Linked DNA regions of Homo sapiens: region 2 is linked to region 1. Evidence: promoter capture Hi-C in human tissues and cell types (Jung and others, 2019). All regions are on one chromosome and are shown on one strand. The core of a region is centred on a gene start or on the middle of the fragment in contact, and the rest is flanking DNA. Distances in the headings are between cores, read along the strand shown.

Region 1 (3,949 bases), core at 380-2,879:
TACTCAGTGATGCTTACTAAAGCATGGTAAGAAAGACTTTATTCAGGACCAACGCGATGGGTACAGGGATCAGGGAAACCCGGGGAGAGAGAGTGGGCTCCAATTCTGAATGCAGCGTCGGCAAGTAGAAATTTATGGCCATGTAAAATCACTAAGAGTAACCATCGGGGGAAGAGGGATTCTGGCTCAACCGATCTAAAGGATTCTTGTAGAACTCAGGCCAGGGTGAAAAGACATGACTGGGGGATAGAGGAAGATGAGGAACCTGATCTGCTATGAGGGGATGGGGGTTCTGTGCTAGAACTGGATTTTACAAGGAAGTGCACAGATGGGCCTAGCATGAGATTCAGAAGCCTGACTAAAGTTTGGCCAAGCAAAGAATCTTTGTCACCTCAGGGCTGTTGTGAGAATTTTAGGAGACACATCCACCAGCCTTGGCATGGGGCCTGATGCAGAGTAAGTGTTCACTAAACTTTACCTATTAACGTTAAAGCACTTTAAGTTGACAAACACTCCACGTACAGAGCTTTTAATGGGGCAAACAAGGGGCAGAGGCCTCAGCTGCAGGGTACTCAACCTCTAAGGAAGGGCGCTGGAGAAAACTGCACTTGCAGAGCCCCTGGCTGGAGGGCGGAGAACCATGTGGGTGTAAAGGGATGGCAAGGGCAGAACGTATGCCCCTGCCCACCTTAGACAGTTGCTAAAGGGTCTCCCAGGCACTCAGCCTAGCCTTTAAGTGAAAGCGGAGGAAACATTTAAAGAAATGAGATAGAGTTAAGGTGTTCGCCTGCCCTCCGCTGAAACACGTGGGGGCAGGTCAGGGGCACACCACAAATGCCCGTATCGCGCCTGTGTGTACCAGGCACCGTCCTCGGAGGTTAACGTGCAGTAACTCACTCGGGTCCCCACTTTCGGCACAGGCAGCAGGCCCAAGGTCACGCAGTGCCAAGGGACTGAGTCAGACCCGAGCCCGCGCGCCGCGGCCCACGGCCTGTGCCAGCGCGCTCCTCGCCGGGTAGGGGGCCTGGTCAGCCGCGTCAGACCTGAGAGTTGTGGCTGGGGGCGAGAGCTGCACCCCCCTACCGACCCCGGGCGGGAATGTTCCAGAACCCCTGCGAGCAGCCGTTGGCCGCACAGCCCCCGGGCCGGCCGCGACCCCGCCTTGCGCCGCGAAGGTCCCTAGCTCCGGGGAGTCGCGGGCGAGGGGCACGCGCACGGACGAGACCGCACCGCAGCGCACGCGCACTGGCGGGCACTCACTCGCCCGCCGCCCGGGAGGAGAAGGAAGGCATGGAAAGTTCCAGCCGGTTCGAGAGCTAGGTAGCAGGCATGGCAGGAGGCGGGGTAGGGGCAGGCAGGGTCGCGAGGGGGCGTGCGGCCGCCGCGAGCCGCTCTGGGCCGCGTCTGCAGCACCGCCCCTAGCCGCGGCCGGCGGGCTGGGCTGGGGTCGGGGCGGGGGCGGTGCGGCGGGTGCGGGGCTGCGGAGGGGGCGTGGCGGCCGCCCGCGGGCGGAGAGGGGGCGGGGCGGCGGCAAGGCGCGCGGGCGGGGCGGGGCGCGCCGAGGGGGCGTGGCGCGGCGTCTGCGCAGCTGCCAGCGCCTTTAAGCCCGGGCTCGCGCTCTCGGACCGTGCTTTCGCCGCCTGGGAGCCGTCCGGCGCAGCAGTTTCTAGGTCCCCACTGTCCCCGCCGTCCCGCCCCTTCGCGTCCCGGGAACCGGCTGGCTTCCGAGCCGCACTCGCCGATCCTCCAGGCATGCCCCGCTACGAGCTGGCTTTAATCCTGAAAGCCATGCAGCGGGTAAGTGACCTTCCCTCAGAGCCGGTCTTCCCGCGCGGGCGCCCCCGCTGCCGCTAGGCCGCCGTCCCCCGCGCGCCCTGGCCGCGGGACCCCGGGCCTTCCTGCACTCCTCGGAGGAGGCCGGGGCGGCGGGCGGGCGGCGGGCGTCCGCGGGAAGGGGGCGCGCGTGGGCCGGCCGGGCCCGGCCGCGTGCGCGCGGGAGGCGGGGGTGTGCCTGCGCGTGTGCGCGGTCCGGGAGGGTGTGCCTCGCAAGCGGCCCGCCGGGCGGGGGGCGGGGCGGACCGAGCGGGCCCCGACCCCGATCCCGGCGCCGGCCCGCGGGAGTCCAGTGGAAGGTCCGCGGGAGGACACGCGCGGGCGCCCAGCCCGACTCCGGCCCGTCCCCGCCAGTCGTGAAGCTGCCTCGTCGCCGGCCCCGCCGCCGCCGCCTGGTCCGTCCCGCTCCGCCGCCCGCCGGCTGCCGCCGACCGCCTCCGCTCTAGCGCCCGCCGGCCGCCCGGAACGTCCGCGCCCAATAAAGCGTTCCTCCAAAGCTTGTTTGTGCCGTTGTCTGTATTCCAGTCTCTTGCAATCGCTCTCATGTTAAAAAAAAATCTTTTGACTTTTCTTTTTCTGACTTCAGCGAAAATCCCGCTCCGGGTGCCCTTAGCCCAGTTTCATTCATCCAAGTTGTGGCCTTTCTTGCGCCTCCAGAAGACACTTTCTTCCCCCTGCTTTTGATTGATCTTGAGGTAGGGGATTTCAGGTTTGGAGGGATGCTAAGCGAACCAGCGGCCCCTTTCAGGTGACGGCGTGGCCAAGGACAGGGGCCCGCGGCCCGGAGGCAGCTCACTTCGTCCTCTGTCCTGGGTCATGTACTCCTCAAGTCGTCGCCGAAATCCCCATTCTCCCGTGAATTCGGAATTCGGTAACGTAGTTTGGTGTTATGTTTTTTTTTCTCCACCAGGTGTAATAAAACAAAAATCATTGTACCACGTCCGAACTTTGTAAGCACAGCTTCCTACAGCGCTAGAGGAGTGGACGCATTTTTACGTTTGAAATTAGGCTCCAGGTCAATTGCGAGGAGTATTACCAAGTTTGGTTGAACTTAAGCTCAATTGATAAACTAACAATCACGGAGCGTCGGGAGATTGTTAGGAAGTGTGCTTTGCATATTGTTAACTGGGAAGGGACGCCAGTGCCTCTCTATGAGGTCCAGACAGCCTGGCCAGGCATGCCATTGTGTCCCCCAGCTTGTTCTTCATGGATTTGGAAGAAGTTAAGATAGTATCTGTTCAGCCTCTTGAATATCCCTTTTGGCCCTCCTCCTTGCTTACCAGCATATGTAACTCCGAAAGGATAGGAGCAGTGAAAACAAAGCATTATTAAAAGGGAAGATTTTTAATTAGGTGGAAGTTGTTTAAGCCCTCCCTTCAACTTACGTGTTTTAGGGAATGTGGAACCTGGGAAATTCGTTACTGAAATTCCTTTTGTTTACTTTCCTTGTCTTGGGGAGGTAGCAGGTGACACTGAAAGAGGCAACCTGTAGGCAATAATATTTGCTCATTCTGTAACCCTTTGAAACCTTTGAAATGAAGACTTGCCCTCCCCTTTGTTTTTGCCATAGTTGCCAAGTATCTTGGTTAACATGGCTGCAAGTATTAAGTGTATTTCTTTTACCATTTTTTTTTATGTCCTGTAATAACATAGCCTTTGGATGTGGAGCACCCATTTTTCACTCTAGTTCAGATCAACAGAGCGTAATTTGGTTAAAATAATAAATAACCTTCCTTGAAATCTTCGCATGAGGGAAGGGGGGCAAAAAAAAGAAAAAAAGCCCTAGAAAGTAGATAATAAAGGTGAACTGCCTCTTGGAGAAAGAGGCCCCATGGCAGTAGATAGAAGGTTGTAACAGTGGTGACTTATGTACAATGGCGAAGTTATGTTGAGGAGATCCTTGACCTAAATAAAGTAATATTAAACAATAGCTTCTCAGTTATTTGTTCAAAAACCTATCTGTAGCTTGTAAATGTGGCACAAACACAAAGACTTCCAGGTTTTAGACCAGTTTGCTTGCTTTCAGTTTAGGAAAATAGGATTCTAAAATAGGATGAATGTTTGGGGGGAAACGAATTTAAAAAGTTAACTCTAGGCTTATGAAATGAAAAATGCG
Region 2 (3,682 bases), core at 66-2,565, 91 kb after region 1:
TAAAGTGCAGCAAGAATAATTATTTCTACATAGGCCTTTTGGATTGGCTTTGATGGAAGTTTGTTCCACAAGAAGTCTCAGATAAGACCTTCTAAAGCTGAGCCCAACCATGGGTTTGTATCCTCAAACACCTGTGAGTTGGATGATTTTCTCCTCTTAAGGTCCCAAGATAAACTTGGAGCTCCTAGACCTGTTAGACCTGTTAGAAAGTGACATTCCACAGGTCAGGAACCCTGTACAGGGACTGCACAGACGAGCGTATGAGGTCAGTTTCCCCCATGGGGCTTTTATCGGCTCTGCGAATCGAGATTGACTCCTTAAAGGGAAGCATACCCTTCCAGTCAAAGCCTTGGTAAAATAATCACTTTCTCCAATTGTGTCCTGTTGCAAAAGAAAAATGGATTCCTATTGCACTGATGCAAACAACTATATTGCCATAAGAATACTCATAGATAGTTTCCAAATTCTAGAGGAACCAGGCAGAGAGAAACAAACATGCTCCACGTTTTCGTTCATAGGAGTATACCTTACTCAATTACTAAAGGCCATAATAGTTCAAAACAAGTTTCCTTGACTATGAAAAACAAAACAAGGATCAACAATATTCCAAGAAAAAGTCAAAAAGTTTACTTCAGCTTCGTGAGCTCAGCTTATTTAGTTAACTCCAGTTTTGTTTGATATTTGTGAACATTTCTGCTTTTTGTGAGTCCTGTACATTTTCCTTTATTCCAGTGTCACAGTCTCCAAAGTTATCAAACCTGATTGTCTCAAATACAATCAGAAATTGTATCTGAAAGCACCTGTCAGAGTCTTATACCCTGTTATAAACCATCTTTTGAAAAGGATTAAAACAAGACAACAATTGTCTATGAACAGCAGAATGTCCAGAGTAGTTACAGTTAGAAACACAATTGACAAAGAAGTTTGGTTATCTCTGTGGTTTACAATAACTTAACATAAAAACCTTAATTATGGTTGATAGCATATACTCAGACATTAGAATTTTAGAAATCCTGTACAATTTTGGAACATATATTAGCATTATTCACCAAGATATAACCTAAAGAAGATTGAGCATCATTTTGGCAATCCCATGTACCTAAACATGTCAAATAATCCTGTTTACTTCTCTTTTCTGGACACTCCAGGGGCCCTCTGAAGTATTCAAAAAGCAAGATGTCAGGAAAGACAATTTTGAAACTGAAGTTTGATTTTGGGAAGGCTAGTAAATGTTTGAGGTTTAAAACATTTGCTATTATGAAATAGAGTTCCAGATTACTATAAGTTATTTATTTTGCCAAAGTGATGACTTAGAAATTTAAAGAAACAAAAAGCTTTTATAAACCTTTATAAACTTTGCCAAAGAGCAGATTAGTATTTTAAGAATTCCTTGTTGTGTTTTTATTTCAATACTCAATTTACAGAAAAACCATATGTTTGAAATGTTTGTTCCCTGGTGCCGTAAAGAAAGAGCACTTGAACATAAATTTAATTTTCTCAGCAAGGCCATTTTTATATTTTTGGCAGAAAAGTTACACTTGCCAGCAGTTTTGCCATGAGAGTATATCGAACAAAGGAGACAGGGTCATTTATAACCTGACGCGTCCACCCTACTGCTGTGTCTGGTTTTCATTGGCAGGAACGGGACCTTACGTTTTGTATTTGTCCTGATTGGCCAGCAACTTAGAACTTTTTAAAAGAGGCAAAGACAGAGGAGAATAAAGGAAGGAAGAAGTAACTTGTGGAATGCTGAGAAAGGTAAAAACACCTTTAAATAAAGAAGAGGAACAGGCTATGACCTAATGCTTGCTTGGACCAGTATAAGCACGCCAAGGCAAATATTTAGGCTAAACTGTGGGACCTAAGAATATGAAGTATATTGACTTTTTTATTACGGCTAGCAGCTATTTAAGAATGTTAGCACAGGTCTTTGAATAAATTTTGATTTTTTTTTTTTCTTTTTTAGACGGAGTCTTGCTCTGTCACCCAGCCTGGAGTGCAGTGGCGCAGTCTTGGCCCACTGCAAGCTCTGCCTCCCAGATTCATGCCATTCTCCTGCCTCAGCCTCCTGAGTAGCTGGGACTACAGGTACCCGCCACCACGCCTGGCTAATTTTTTGTATGTTTTTAGTAGTGACAGGGTTTCACCATGTTAGCCAGGATGGTCTCAATCTCCTGATCTCGTGATCCACCTGCCTTGGCCTCCCAAAGTGCTGGGATTACAGGCGTGAGCCACCGTGCCCGGCCTAAATTTTGTTTTTAAGAGAAGTTACTATTTATTCCTAATTAGATGGAGGGGAAAGTTTTTGAAGAGGAATCTTTGCTTTTTACAGGTATAATACTCTTGAATTTAGCTAATATGTTTGCATAGAGACCCTCTTCTGCAAGATTAACTTCCACAATTCTTCCACTTCTTCTTCGAACCTTCAGCTTCTTCCTAATTTAACTCAAAACAATCTTTAAACCCTAGGTAAAGGTTTACATTTCCATGTCTTCTTATAACTTTTCACCAAAAAACCACATTTTACTGTTCTTACACACCTTGCTTGTAAATCTATTTCTAGTAGTTTCAATTAACTCCTAGCAATTTTTAACTTTAAGGTAAAACTTGGTAACTTGCTTTAATTGTGTGCTAAGTGCAGCCAAGGTTTGACTCCAGCATAATTAAGGGCATAGCTAATTCCATGTCCTCAGTCCCTACCAGTTGTGAAGCTGACAAGTCAAATAGTTCTCAAAACCCCAAAAGCAGTTTGTAACCTCAAAACAGTTAGCAAACCTTGCATCTGACCTGCATTTTACCAATAGTCTTTAGGGCTGTTTTTATTTCTTAATGATTAAAGTCACGTGAACTGAAAGGTACCACAGCTTTTAACTTCCCTTTAAAAAATATTAGATCCAAGTGCTTGTCTTTCTTTAGACTAAATTAGTTAGAACTCTTTTTCCAGGCATCACACACAGTACAGGCAAAAGAGAACCCAGTCGCTGGGTGGGAACCTTTAAGAGACAGGGCTAAGAAAACATGGAGGTATCAAATCTGAGAGGGCTGTTCCCCTCAGGCAGGGTTGCTAAACAAAGCCTTGCCAAGCAATTACCAGCCATGCCCCCAGGGTGTAAAGCAAGATGGAAGCTTGCAACATAAACCATGCAGACAAGCAAAGCACACCAGATTGACCACAGCCCAAGACTAGCCCCACAAATCCTTTTTCACAATTAAAACTTTACAGAAAATACAAACAGTTGTAGTTGCAGGGAGCCTGGACTAGTAAAGTGTCTTCTAAAAGAAAAAAAAACTTTAAAGGTTAACTTTTTGACCAGGTAGATAAGGGGAAAGAAAAAAAAACAGTTTAAAAATGCCTGGGGAAGAACTTCTTATTCTTATGCAAGTGGTTCCTCCACCGGGAAGAGAAGTTTAAGCTTAATTACTGTCCAATAGAGTTAAACACCTTGACCATGGATGGAGAAGGCTACGGCAGCAGCATGTGGCTGGGAACCAGCCAGCCAGCTGTGCAGGACTCTTGGGCCATACTTCCCAGCCCTGGCAGGGCGGGGAGATGCTGCTCTGTGGTGGGTCCTGAAAAAGGAAGGAAAAGGCCATGAAAAGGCCCAGGAGTGATGGGAAAGAGGGGATGGGGGTGTGGAAAAGGCTTAGAAGCAGCAATGAGAGGTTTTGAGTCCCCGTTTCA

Evidence for each region. Contacts are between HindIII fragments. The study calls those that stand out against the background at their distance.
Region 2: a fragment that was not itself captured here is called in contact with the fragment with the promoter of MRPS6 in region 1 in 4 of the 25 tissues and cell types used here (H1 embryonic stem cells, adrenal gland, hippocampus and 1 more).

The regions. Positions count from the first base shown.
Region 1 is chr21:34,071,949-34,075,897 of GRCh38, forward strand. It overlaps MRPS6 (mitochondrial ribosomal protein S6), which reads left to right and starts at 1,630. Exons shown (of 3, transcript NM_032476.4): 1 at 1,630-1,797. The coding sequence starts at 1,753. SLC5A3 (solute carrier family 5 member 3) reads left to right here and starts at 1,630. Exons shown (of 2, transcript NM_006933.7): 1 at 1,630-1,797. RefSeq lists silencers at 1,078-1,597, 1,888-2,287 and an enhancer at 1,541-2,491. The HindIII fragment of the contact is 15,607 bases long and covers 1-3,949 here.
Region 2 is chr21:34,162,949-34,166,630 of GRCh38, forward strand. No RefSeq gene overlaps it. Among named protein-coding and RNA genes, the nearest start is that of LINC00310, 16 kb to the right of the region's middle. The HindIII fragment of the contact is 3,908 bases long and covers 1-3,269 here.